Regions from separate parts of the Homo sapiens genome. Here region 1 is linked to region 2. The links are contacts of gene promoters, found by promoter capture Hi-C in human tissues and cell types (Jung and others, 2019). All regions are on one chromosome and are shown on one strand. Each heading gives the region's core, a stretch centred on a gene start or on the middle of the fragment in contact. The rest is flanking DNA. Distances are from core to core; before and after follow the strand shown. Region 1 overlaps FBXO31 (F-box protein 31). Region 2 holds the start of MTHFSD (methenyltetrahydrofolate synthetase domain containing).

What was found. Contacts are between HindIII fragments. The study calls those that stand out against the background at their distance.
Region 1: a contact is called between a fragment that was not itself captured here and the fragment with the promoter of MTHFSD in region 2, in 2 of the 25 tissues and cell types used here (IMR-90 fibroblasts and dorsolateral prefrontal cortex).

The regions. Positions count from the first base shown.
Region 1 is chr16:87,354,095-87,360,892 of GRCh38, forward strand. It overlaps FBXO31 (F-box protein 31), which reads right to left. Exons shown (of 9, transcript NM_024735.5): 2 at 6,201-6,272. Among named protein-coding and RNA genes, the nearest start is that of FBXO31, 26 kb to the right of the region's middle. The HindIII fragment of the contact is 3,111 bases long and covers 2,840-5,950 here.
Region 2 is chr16:86,549,987-86,556,634 of GRCh38, forward strand. MTHFSD (methenyltetrahydrofolate synthetase domain containing) reads right to left here and starts at 5,249. Exons shown (of 8, transcript NM_001159377.2): 1 at 5,183-5,249; 2 at 4,659-4,765; 3 at 2,047-2,160. The coding sequence starts at 5,198. It overlaps FLJ30679 (a long non-coding RNA gene), which reads left to right and starts at 5,334. Exons shown (of 1, transcript NR_026674.1): 1 at 5,334-6,648. RefSeq lists enhancers at 2,856-3,520, 3,521-4,183, 5,152-5,201, 5,242-5,531 and a silencer at 5,106-5,319. The HindIII fragment of the contact is 6,717 bases long and covers 676-6,648 here.

The sequences.
Region 1 (6,798 bases), core at 3,145-5,644, 800 kb after region 2:
AAGGCACTCCATATTTTTAGAAGATATCATTGTTAATATCTGAGTAAAGGCTAAAATGAATTGGAGTTTTACATATTTTAAAAAGTACAGAACATTGTCCAGGCGCGGTGGCTCACGCCTGTAATCCCAACACTTTGGGAAGCTGAGGCGGGATAATCGCTTGAGCCCAGGAGTTCCAGACTGGCCTGGGTAACATAGGGAGCCCTTGTCTCTACAAAAACAACAGAAAAATTAGCCAGGTGTGGTGGCACACACCTGTAGTCCCAGCTAACTAGGAGCTGAGGTCAGTCATCTGAGCCCGGGGAGATGAAGGCTGCAGTGAGCCATAACCGCGCCAGTACTCCAGCCTGGGCAACAGAGCGAGATCCTGTCTCAAAAAAAAAAAACCCAAAAATGCACTTTGACTGGCTTCACCAACGTGCAGAGAAGCAGATGTATCAGATCTGCTGTCAGGACAACAGGCTTCCCCTTAACACTCCCAACACCTTACAAATGCGTATTATCCAGAGTGCCAGGCAACCTCATGCACCCAAGGAAAAAAGAAAAGATACCCCAAAAGTAGTGACTCTGAGGTCACAAAACTACTCCACAGGCCGGGCACACTGGCTCACACCTGTAATCCCAGCACTTTGGGTGGCCGAGGTAGATGGATCACCTGAGGTCAGGAGTTTGAGACAAGCCTGGCCAAACTGGCAAAACCCCGTCTCTACTAAAAATACAAAAAGTAGCTGGGCATGGTGGCATATGCCTGTAATCCCAGCTACTCAAGAGGCTGAGGCAAGAGAGTCACTTGAACCGGGAGGTGGAGGTTGCAATGAGCCAAGATCGCGCCACTGCACTCCAGCCTGGGTGACACTGGGTGAGACTCAATCTCAAAAAAATAAAAATAAAAGAAACTATTCCTCAACATTAGGGTCCCAGCCTTCTACCGTATGGGCTTGTTCCCACCCAGGACAGTCCTACACTCAGGGATGTTAGCTCAGCCAGGCGCAGTGGCTCACGCCTGTAATCCCAACACTTTGGGAGGTCAAGGCAGAAGGATTGCTTGAAGCCAGGAGTTTAAGACCAGCCTGGGCAATAAAGCAAGACCCCCATCTCTATCATAAAATAAAATAAGATGTTGGGCCCACAGCGCAAGGTCCAAAGGACTTCAACACGACCAGTTAACGGCCCACGTGAATGATGGAAACACAAGCCACGCACGGCCCCAAAATACTCAGAAGCCAATCAGGGCAGACTTTTCCGAAAGGTTTGGATGCTGTGAGAGAACAAATTTTGAGACGCTCTCCATGAAGACACACTAAGAGCAGCTGAATACTGAAAACCCACACATCACAGGCATAGGTTGAGGCTGTTGAAATTGGCTTTCTTTTTTCACACACAAGAACTTTTTCTTCCTGATATTCTAGTAGGTCATCCACTTAAATTTGTCCAAAGAGAAATGCAACCAATGTTTAACTGCTGTTTTTCATTTTATTTTCTAAATTTTTCAAGTTTTCTACAATGACTTTGTGTTTTTATAACGACACTCAAACTTCAGCATGAACAACAGTATGTCAATCAAAACCCACATATGATAAAGCCGCCAGCTCGAAGCAACTGGCGCTACATCACAATAGGAGGCTGCGCAGCCTGGATGCTCGAGAGGCCAGCCCGGCAGCGTGGGGAGGAGGTCTCTTCCTCGTGAGCTACATGAAGCTTCCCTCCACCTGCCTCGGGGACAAAAGGAATGTCCCCTGCCCCCAGTGCAACTCTGAAGACTCGCTAGGCCCCAGCTGCGCGGCCTCCCCAGAGGCTGGTCAGAATTCCATCCCAGGTCCACAGTGCACATTCCAGAGAAATAGTGAGACAGACATGCGACATGAGGAGCCTCTCAGTGCTTGTCCCCTTGTATTGAAAAGCCCTTGCCCAATCACCTGAGGTCAGGAGTTCAAAACCAGCCTGGCCAACATGGTGAAACCCTGTCTCTACTAAAAATACAAAAATTAGCCGGGCGTGGTGGCAGGCGCCTGGAGTCCCAGCTACTTGGGACGCTGAGGCACGAGAACTGCTTGAACCCGGGAGGCAGAGGCTGTAGTGAGCTGAGATCACACCACTGCACTCCAGCCTGGGTGACAGAGTGAGACTCCATCTCAAAAAAAAAAAAAAAGAAAAGAAAGAAAGAAAAGAAAAGCCAGCACATTCCTGTCAGCACCAAGGAGAGACTGTTGTCAACGCTCACTAAGTCGACTGTTCCCTCCCACAGCTCTCCTCACTGACTGCTCAGAGGAAGGGCTGGTCAGTCTAGAACGGCACAAATGTCTTCAAACGTTGCCCACCCCTCCTTTTCCACCTCGGCCCCTTCCAGCCCCGTGTTCCCCGTCCACAGACTCCTGAGAGGTCCACAGACTCCTGAGAGGTCCCCTGGCTCTGGCCTCCACTCAGCTAGACAGTTCACACCTCAACAAGGCAGTGCTGTTAGCAGGCGTGTAAAGGGTTCAGACACCACCCTGAAGCGTGCTAACCAAATCCAGGCACCTCCGCACCAACTACACGAAGGTCCCCTCAGTAAAGCGGGACCCAGTTCCCCAGCTGCAGTGATCTGCTGAGATCTGGCAGGACATTAGGTGAAATTACTCTTTCTGCTTTCAGTTGGTGTTTTTAGAAATCGGGCATTTATGAAACTTAAGATGTAGGTCTGCTCCCAACAGACCATGCTGACCCATGGGCCATCGGGGTGGACTGAAAGCAGTAGTAGGGGCTCCACGAGCCTCTAGAAACTGCAACACAGCTTTTAGGGCAGGTAGGTGTTTTCAATCTCTTTCTGGACAGCTGAAATTCATTGTCTCCATCACCACTCAACCACTCTGAGCTAATAAAAAGTGGAAACAGGCCAGGTGCAATGGCTACACCTGCAATCCCAACACTTTGAGAGGCCAAGGTGGGAGGAATGAATGAGCCCAAGAGTACAAGACCAGCCTGGGCAACATAGTGAGACCCGTCACTACAAAAAACTGAAAAATTAACCAGGCATGGTGGCACACGCCTCTAGTCCCAGCTACTAGGGAGGCTGAGGCAGGAGGATCGCTTCAGCCCAGGAGTTCAAGGATACAATGAGCTGTAATTGTGCCACTGCACTCCAACCTGGGCAACAAGACAGACCCTGTCTCAAAAAAAAAAAGTGGAGACAGCATTAAATTCCTATAACTGTGGCTTAGAAAAATTTCCAGAGCTCCATCAAAAGAATTCGGTTCTTTTTTTTTTTTTTTTTTTGAGACAGAGTCTCGCTCTTGTCTCCCAGGCTGGAGTGCAATGGCGTGATCTCGGCTCACTGCAACCTTCACCTCCCGGGTTCAAGCGATTCCCCCACCTCAGCCTCTGGGTACCTGGGATTACAAGCACACGCCACCACACCCAGCTAATTTTTGTACTTTTAGTAGAGATGAGTTTCACCATGTTGGCCAGACAGGTCTCGAACTCCTGACCTCAGATGATCCACCTGCCTCGGCCTCCCAAAGCACTGGGATTACAGGCATTAGCCACCATGTCTGGCCAAAAAGAAGAATTAAGTTCTAAAGAGTCAACTGTTAGCCAGGCACGGTACCTCATGCCTGTAATCCCAGAACTCTGGGAGGCCGAGATGGGCAGATCACTTGAGACCAGCCTGGCCAACATGATGAAACCCCATCTCTACTAAAAATACAAAAAAATTTGCTGGGCATGGTGGTGTATGCCTGTAATCCTAGCTACCTGGGAGGCTGAGGTGGCAGTATTACTTGAACCGAGGAGGCAGAGGTTGTGACACTGCACTCCAGCTTGGGTGACAGAGTGAGACTCTGCCTCAAAAAAAAAAAAGGAGTCAACTGTTGCTACCTGCCTTTGTCTATTGAGGGTATATGCATATGTGATTTTTAATTCACATAGGCTATTAAAATGTGATTAAAACTAATAAAGGTCAGAAGTCAAATATTCATATTTCACTTTAGAATAAAATTTTAAAGCTTCTACTCTGTTCGTTCCTCTCTGTGTCTGCAGTAGCTCCTCAATAAACGATACATGTGAAAATGTGCATTAAAGTGATCTCGACTGGTAGTACCCAGAAACCACTGCAGAAAGGTAAGCCAAATGCAGCCTGGGTCCAACACACAGGTGTGATCTCTGTCACAGCTGAAGCAGAGCCACGCTGCAGCAAGTGAACGTGAAAGGATGACAAAAAGCCACGAGGTCCGCTTGCTCCAGGACCAAAGCTGTCCCATGTGTGAATCAGAGGGCCCTCCCCATGCAGTTCTTGGCCGTGCTGGCTGCCGCAGAAGCCAAAGCTCGCAGGAGGTACATACGGCAGGTGTAAACGTCTCTGTACGCCATGTGCTCATAATCAGGGAGAATTTTCACAAAACGTCCCGACTTCACGCGAGGGTTTATACCTGAACAGACACAGCAGGGAAAGGGCTAAGGATGGCTCCCTTTACAGGACTGTGCAAACAGCGTGAATACGACCCAATGCCTGCCCCTCACCAGTGTGATACAATCCCCTCGTGTTTATGCAGCCACCCAGGACACAGAGAGGTGGCTCTGAGAAACCTGCTGGAGAGAACAACACTGTGACACGTTTTCCTTCCATCAGTGGTGCCACCAGAAACTCACGGTGGCAGCAAGCTTGGAAATCCTTTCCATATTTGATCACACTCCTCCCGGGGCCAGCACACTCCCGGCAGGCCCCAGGCCACAGCTCACTGGGGCTCAGGAGGTGGGAGGGCAGGTGTCCTGGCAGGTGAGCATCTGGGATGACCGTCTAGAGAACACTTACCCCGGCTAACATACTCACTTTGCCCAGCACCCACCTGGCGTTTCCCAGCCTGCTAACTCAGGCCAGCCTCGTCACAGGTCATCCAAGGTTGCCCAACTACACCACCCGTTTCTGGAGCTAAGGCTGATTTTCTTCCACCACCTGTTCCCAAAGCTAAGTAATTTTCTCCTGGATAAGCCTTAAAGCAAATTCACAGAAACACAGTTGCTGCGCTGTGAAAATGAACACTGACATTTGCTTTGGCCACTGCAGACTAACACTGCGGGGAATAAACACTGTCGGAAACAGATCATGTGAATTCTCCGCATTTTGCAAACACTTTCAAGGGGTCAAGAATCAGCAGTGAAAAGAAATCTCCCAATGCCCTGTCCTCCTATCCCCTCTTCTGTGCCCACCCCCTGCCCTACCCTCGGCCACACTGCCTCCTGCCTGCCTATGCCCGGATGGCCTCTCCCACAGGACAGGAGGACTCAGTGCTCAGGCAACACCTCCGACCCCCACAGCTGGAAGGAGCATCCATGTGTACACTCCTATGGCTGTTACAGGAAACCCTAACACCTGGGCAGGCCAAACACCTGTGTCCCTACCGGGACATGACTTTTGGTGCTGACAACTCTTAGAGAGAAATATGTCTTCATGTCACTTTGAGATGATATGACCCAAATGGCCTAAGAAACTCAAAGAGCAACTGCCTTGCAGAAATGAAAAAGAAAAAAGAAAAGAAGCTCAAAGAATGGTCAGAAGATGAAAACGTGGGGTATGAGACACTCACAGAAACCCTCTGACCATCCAAAAAAGCCAAGAGCTTCGTCCAGTGAGCAAGAAATGGGAAAGTCCCTGGCACTGAAGAAACACCCGCGGGAAGACAGCCTGGGGCCAAGGAGCCTCTGCCTGATCGGTGAGTGTCACAGTTGACTCTGGAAAGCGGGTGAACCAGAGAAACATGAAACGGGGCTGGGGGGCTCAGCCTGCTCACAGAATGCTAAAGGGAAGGAGAACTCTAGCAGGGGGGCTGTTCTCCGTACCTGGGGCTTGGACAGAAGGCACCACAGCTTCATTTCCCAATGACCACAGGCAGTCCCATCCTGAAGGCTGGAGGCCCAGAAGCCAGAGAAACAGGCAGCCTCCAGGAACACCCAAGTCGCTCTGGTGCAGCCTACATTTCTCAGCTCTAAAGGGCCTCGATGCCTGGTAAAAGACACTAGTATCTACGATGCCCAGAATGGGAGAATACGGTGTCCCCTCCCTAATTTTAGTGCTGTTACTACCAGTGCTCTATTCAAAATGTGACTGTAAGATGGTGTCTGAGAAAACAAAAGTGTGGACTAAATCACTTTGATTATTTGTCATTGATGTGCACTGTCTGCTTCTGGTACAAAGTTAATCATGGATGGTAACAAATAGATTCACTCACGCTTCGCATAGACGTCCCGACAAGACACGCCTGTGATCTCCAGCTTCCGCAAGTTTTCGCAAACACCATACTCTGTAACAAGAAACATTTGCAGAAATTTAAGATCAACAACTCATAACGCGACAGACGTGGGCAGGCTGCTGATGGCTGGCAGGGGAGGTGCACACCTAGCCTCAGCCCCATCTCCAGAGTGCATCTGTCACTGTGGAGATTTCACTGACTTCTCCACATTCAGTAAACACCCTTGTTCACCGATGAAGACATTATTCTATTTTAGTCAATGTCACCCTTTACAAAATAATAATCTGCAATGTCTATTCTAATAAGCTCTAGAAGCCTAACCACACAAACCAATATCAGACAATCCCTAGTTTATGAACAAGGTGAGGCAGAATTCAGTTGTCTGGACACAGTGCCATGTTTCCATGGAAACAAATTCACCACTGGTGTTAGGGTTCAGACAGTGCCAGAGGCCAGTCCACCCCATGTACTTCCCTGTGCTGCCTGTGTGTTCAACTCAGCCCAAGGCCAAGAGGGGACCGTGCAAGACATGGGGGAAGGGGTGAACATTGTCCCTTCTCCACTGGCTAGGCTTGGC
Region 2 (6,648 bases), core at 3,999-6,498:
ACTGTCCGGTCAGACACTGGCCACTGTGCCTGTAGCTGTGGCTTGAGGTTGTGCGTGCCCCCAGCACTGCGGACTGTCCAGTCAGACACTGGCTGCTGTGCCTGTAGGTGTGGCCTGAGGCTGTGCATGTCACCATTGCCTGCCCACATGCAGCTGGGGCTCAGGAACTTGCATCTTTACCTGCATCCCAGCTGATCCTTAAGTCCCTTAAAGTTTCCAAAAACCACTGAGGACCCTGAAAGCACCAGAACTCAGGGACCACATGTGTGTAGTCTTGCACCACTACATCCTATGCCCAGCACGCAGCCTGGGAGATAGCTCAGTTACTTATGCAGTTGTTTCTTCAGCCTGAATAAATGATGGCATGAAGCAACAGGGATTTGCTCAGGGCTGCACCCCTCTTCCAGGCCATCTTGGCTAAGGCTGACCACACGGTCAAGGTTTCTGATTTTTGCTCTGAGGGGCTGACAGCTGAGAACACCCTGAACTTCACACTTGCAAGGACTGGCTCTGGAGTCAGGTGGCTGAGTCAGAATCCTGGCTGTACTGAGACTGATGTGCGGTAACCTGAGGTGGAGCCTCTCTGTCTCTGGTTTCAAGTGTCACAGAGGAGCAGAGATGGCTCCCATAGTAGTAGAGAACCAAACCACATAATACAGGGAAAACATTTAGACAGAACTGCGCCTCGAATGCAGTGACTGCCGACTGCCGTCCTTCCTTGCTACTGCTGCTATTACTACTTCTAGCTTATTAAAATGATTCATTAACTGGGAAAATAAGGCTGACAGGAAGCTATGCTTCTGGAAGAGCCTACATGGAAGTCTCTCTTGGGGCTGAACCACCATCAGCAGACAAAATGATCTCCCACACGAGCCTGGACCCCTCCTCTCAGCTCCGGCAAGAGGTGTGGAAAGTGCCCCTCTCACCAGGGCTTCTCAGGAGTCTGACTTGGCAACTTGGGTGGGAGAATGGAGTCAGCACACAACGCATGGCAGCGTTAAGGCAGAATGACAACGATTCTGCCCTGAGATGGCCAGTACTATACTCATGTTATCAGCTGCGATTTGCTCCAGCAAAACCATATCAACCATTACGTTAAATTAATGGGGCCATTTGAATGTTACTGATTTTATAGTTTTGTTTGTATTTAACTTATATGCTTATTTTGGTTTTATAGTTACATAAAAGCTATCTGCATTAAAATTTATACCAAGTTTTATGTTTATCATATTGAATTAGTTTATAATAAACTAATTTAAATCAACCCTGGGGGAGTTTTCTGGTTTTCCTTGAAAAGGGGCCTGTATGTTTTCAGTTGAGGAACAAGTGCTCTAACCGATACCTTTTGAGGGTACATCAGACTTCTTACTCGTGATTTATCATGTTTCAAAGCATCATAATACCACAACTGTGGCAAAAAGAACTAAATCTTCCTTGTAATCTTCCTCCTCTGATGAAGCACATCAAAACTGAGAATGCTTCAACGCCATAGTTTTTGTGTTTGTTTGGTTAGGAAGTTAAAAAATAAAAATTACAAAAGCATGCCTGAATTTAAAAAGTTCAGCAGTGTTGAGAAGAAACCTTTCCAGTTCTTAACCGTGGTCTTTATAGTATCAGAACATGACAAGTGACCGTCTGTCATCCAGAAGCAAATGATTCTGTGTTCAGCAAGCTTGTTAGCATGCTCATTTCAAATGGCAAAGTGGTGTCATCTATTTCAGCTCCAGCTCCTCAATTCTGGAACACCACAGGTTCTGCCTGGGTTCCCTCTCCTGTGCCAACTGGGCCTGGAAGCCATTGTTTTGAACATCCTTTATCTCTGAATTTAGAAGCATTCGGGACTCCTGATTGACTGAATTGCTAAACAGCTGAAGGGCTTCTGAACTATTCTTGGAAAAATCACCACCAAGGGCACTTTCTGTATTGGAGGGAATCGGAAGCACCGACTTTCTAAATGCAAGACAGACGTGTGCACTGACCAGCTACCTGGAAAAGGTGTCCCCCTTGGCGGCCAGGTCTCGGCTCGGCTCAGGGAAGTGGAATTACCTGCAGCACCAGCAGCCGAACGCCTTCCAGTGGTTTATCAGGGTCCACTTTAACTTCCTGTGTTCTGGCAAAAACGTCTAGGTCTTTGATGTTTTGGCAAGCCAGATAAGACCCCTAGTTAGGCAAATAGACAGAGTTGCACTTACTTCAAGGACGAAGAAGCGAGCACTTTTCTGGGGGGCATCAGGATTTACTTTAATGGTCCTGGCCGTTTTGAACGCCTGCAAGCGTGGGAGTTGCTCGGCAGCATGAGAAGCGCCCTGTTTCCAATGCAATCGCACGTTACTGAAAGGACAGCACGCTCTCAGGCCAACTGCAGCCCAAGCAGCTCGGCCCAGAATCTCACCCAGACAGGCACTAACAGTCACCCAAAGAAACATCTAAGGAAGCAGTCTAAGTAAGGAAAGGGATTTGAGAAAAGTAGCCTAATCCCACTTGAGCTTTAACTGAAATGAAACATGCATTCCAAAAAGAATACAAATCCCAAGGGCAAAATTTGATGATTTTTCACAAAATGAAGGCTGCTGTGTAACCACCACCAAAATCAAGCAGTAGCATGACCTGGAAGCCCCCACCTCTCTCCTGTTTGATTCGTTTTTTAAAGATTTCTACATGATTCTCTACATCCTTCATCTTTACCTCTGTTAAGATACATTTCTCTCTCTGGGGTCAGAAGCATTAAAACAAAACACAGTAACAACAAAAAACCATCAAAAGATCAGTTTTTCAAAGGGACAGGACAGTCTTGGAACCACCTCAGCTGAGGACCAGGGAAGGTGGAGCTTGTTGTGGAGAAGCCAGGCTTGGGGAGAGGCAGTCCTGACAAAATGGGGTGAAGCAAGCCAACAGCTAAGTCCTTCAGGGCAGAGAGCATTTTTGAAAAGCGCTTTCTTTTGCTCTTGGAAAATAGGCATGTCAAAGATGATGAACTGCTGCATTGCCTCTTCCGAGTAACCTTTTTTTTTTCTGTCAACACTGTTAGGAACAGCCATCTTTGATTGTCTTACATTTTGATCAGCTGGGAAACTGAGGCCCAGCATCCTTAGGCTGGCAAGGCATTCATTTCTTTCCAAAGGCCTAGAGCCTGAACTTCCAGTTCAGTACCCCTTCATTCCCTAACGCTCTTAGCAGGGTCAATTTTGTGAAAAGCCATTACGACAATAACATGCTTCCGGCCAGGATAAATATTTTACTTTGTATCAAACAGAAAACAGCAACTAGCACCACCTTGAAAGGTGACAGCGTGCTGGCAGCCCTCGGTCCCTCTCGGCGCCTCCTCGGCCTTGGCGCCTACTCTGGCCGTGCTTGAGGAGCCCTTCATCCCGCAGCTGCACTGTGGGAGCCCCTTTCTGGACTGGCCCAGGCCGGCTCCCTCAGCTTGCTGGGCGGTGTGGAGGGAGAGGCGCGGGCGGGAACTGCTGCTGTGCATGGTGCTTGTGGGCCAGCGCGAGTTCCATGTAGGCGTGGGGAGCCCCGCACTCACAGCGGCTGGCCCTGGGCAGTGAGGGGCTTAGCACCTGGGCCACCAGCTGCTGTGCTCTATTTCTCGCCGGGCCTTAGCTGCCTCCCCAAGACCTGCAGCCTGCCATGCCTGAGCCTCCCCACCCCCACCGGCGGGCTCCTGTGCAGCTAGAGCCTCCCCGAGGAGCGACGCTCCTGCTCCACGGTGCCTGGTGCCATCCACTGCCCAACGGCTGAGGAGTGCGGGTGCACTGCACGGGACTGGCAGGCAGCTCCACCTGCAGCCCCAGTGCGGGATCTGCTGGGTGAAGTCAGCTGGGCTCCTGAGGCTGGTGGGGACTTGGAGAATCTTTATGTCTAGCTAAGGGATTGTAAACACACCAATCAGCACCCTGTGTCTAGCTCAGAGTTTGTGAATGCACCAATGGGCACTCTGTATGTAGCTAATCTAGTGGGGAGGTGGAGAACTTTTGTGTCTAGCTCAGGGATTGTAAACGCACCAATCAGCATCCTGTCAAAACGGACCAATCGGCTCTCTGTAAAATGGACCAATCAGCAGGATGTGGGTGGGGCCAGATAAGAGATTAAAAGCAGGCTGCCTGAACCAGCAGCAACAACCCTCTCCAATCCCCTTCCACATTGTGGAAGGTTTGTTCTTTGCAATAAATCTTGCTGCTGCTCATTCTTTGAGTCCACCCTGCCTTTGTGAGCTGCAACACTCTCTGCTAAGGTCTGCAGCTTCACTCCTGAAGCCAGCAAAGACCGTGAACCCACCAGAAGGAAGAAACTCTGAACACATCCAAACATCAGAAGGAACAAACTCCAGACACGCTGCCTTTAAAAACTGTAACACTCACTGCGAGGCTTCATTCTTGAAGTCAGTGAGACCAAGAACCCACCAATTCTGGACACAACCTCACCTAGAGACAACCAAACCACCCTGCACAGAGACGCAAGAGGCCCCAGGTGAAGAGTAAATGACGTCTCTAAATGCTAAGGACGCCCTGGCCAAATGGCTTTGATTTCACACCACTGCTCACTGCTCGCCACATTCTCATCCACCATGACGCAGTAAGAGAATTTTATTACTAGTGTTATTCATTTAAGAATATTTTGTTTTCCTTTTCTGGACTCCAGAAATATGTCAGTACCTTAAAGTTGGGTATCCTGTGATGAACAGGTCGGGGAAAGTCAGCTAAATTTTGTGATTCCATGTAGCCCCAAATTTGTTCACGTATGTCCTGTTTGGAGACACCTACTGCAACAAAAGATTCCCACTTAATAACATACAAAGGAATTCCAGAGCCCATGCTGAAACCGCTTAACAGTAGTTAAGCGACCCCCGCGTGTAGGTCAAACCGGCTTCCGATCCTGTTCCTGAGCCTCAGTTTCCCCGACCTCAAGGGGCCCACGGGCTCCCCCACGTGCACGGCAGGTGTCCCTCCCGCCTCGTCTTCTCGTTATCTTTATTTTTCCTGACATCTTTCTCGGGATTCCGGGCGAGAGAGCCGCTGGTTCGACCCGAACCCAGCACAGACCCCCTCTGACCTCCTCGGCCGCTTCCGGTGATTCTGCCCCATCCTCTGCCAGCCCCGGTGGCCCCGCCTCGACCCTCACCGGTCCCGGCTGTCCCTCCCCATTCCCAGCCGCCCCGGAGCCCCGCCAGGCCCCCCACCTGCCCTCGGCTCCATGGTGATGCAGTCGCTGTGCGACGCTTCCCGGCGCAGGTTCTGGCGCGTAGTGACGTCACCCGCTCCGCGCCTGCGCGATGGTAGGAGGGGCGGAGGCTGAGCGGGCGAGGCCCAGGCGCGCATGCTCGGGCGGGTAAAATCCGCGCCGGGGACAGTCAGGGATGCTCCCAGGCCCTTCGCTCTTGCTTTCAGCTAGTCATTGTCGAGCGCCGCCCGTGACAGGCGTTTTGCCAAGCCCTGGAGTTACTGAAGTGAACAAGTCCCTGGTCTCTCGGGACCCATTGCCGGTTGAAACACATCCCGCCTCCTCTTCCAGTCCTAGAGGCCGCCTCCTCCGGAAAGCCGGCCTTGATTGCTCCTCATGTAGGACGCGGTTCCCTCCTCTGAGATCCTGCAGACTCTCAGGTGCTCACACGTGGGTGTGCAGCGGATTCAGCCGGCAGCTCTTTAAAGCGGCAGGCAGATGGAAATTCGAGGCCAGCCCAGCCCCGGCGACTGCGCTGCGGACGGCCAGAGGCCATCCTTTGAGAAACACCCGTGGATTCTTACCCTGACCTCTGCATACCCTGAGAAAGAACGAACGTGGCAGCCTGCGTCTGCTTGTCTATGTCTTTCATGTTTGCTAACCTAAGGGTCGAGAAGCGGCTCGAGGAGACCAGGCTGCACAGACCGTCACGTCCATTCCCTCTCTGGCCCCAGCCCCGCGGGAAGAAAACGAGGGCGTTCAGCCTGGCAGTTCATTCACTTATTAGGAAGAAGACATCCCACACCCCCACCCAGCACACACACAGATGTCAGGGACCAGCCACTAGGAACCACTCCCTGAGCGAATGAAGGCATCCCCGTAGCCACGTGCCTGGTACATCACAAGCACTCAAAACGTGGCTGCCACCTTTCGAAATTGCATGCCCAAAACTTTATGAGATCCTCACAACACACTTGGGAAACAGACAAAAGAGTTTGAATGCCCGCCTACTTAACAGATACAGAAAATGGTGTTCCGTGTACAAGCGACTTACTCATGTCTGCTGGTAACTCATAATGTGCCGTTTGACCTCCTTAGGACATAATTAATAATGGTAATTAACAGTGCTACGATATGCCAGGCATTGAGCTTAGCGCCTTAAAAGTCATAGCTAACTATGTTTCACAGCAAACCCTCAGAGGCAAATGTGACCCGCCTCCTACGCAGGAGGCAACAGAGGCTCAGACATGTTAAAGAAGCTTGGCCTGAGTCTCCCAGCAGAGAAAGGGCAGAGCGTGTAGCCCTGACAACGTGCTTAATTGCAACTCCTGTGGGTCCCATCACAACTCTCTCTTCCTATGTGGTGTCCGCAACATTAATACATAGAGACACCGAGGAGCCTCAGTTCTGCTTGTGGGCGGGCCTGTCTTTCACCAGGCTGGCAAAAGCAGTGCAAACATCATTTTGGAGGTGATAAAATAAAAT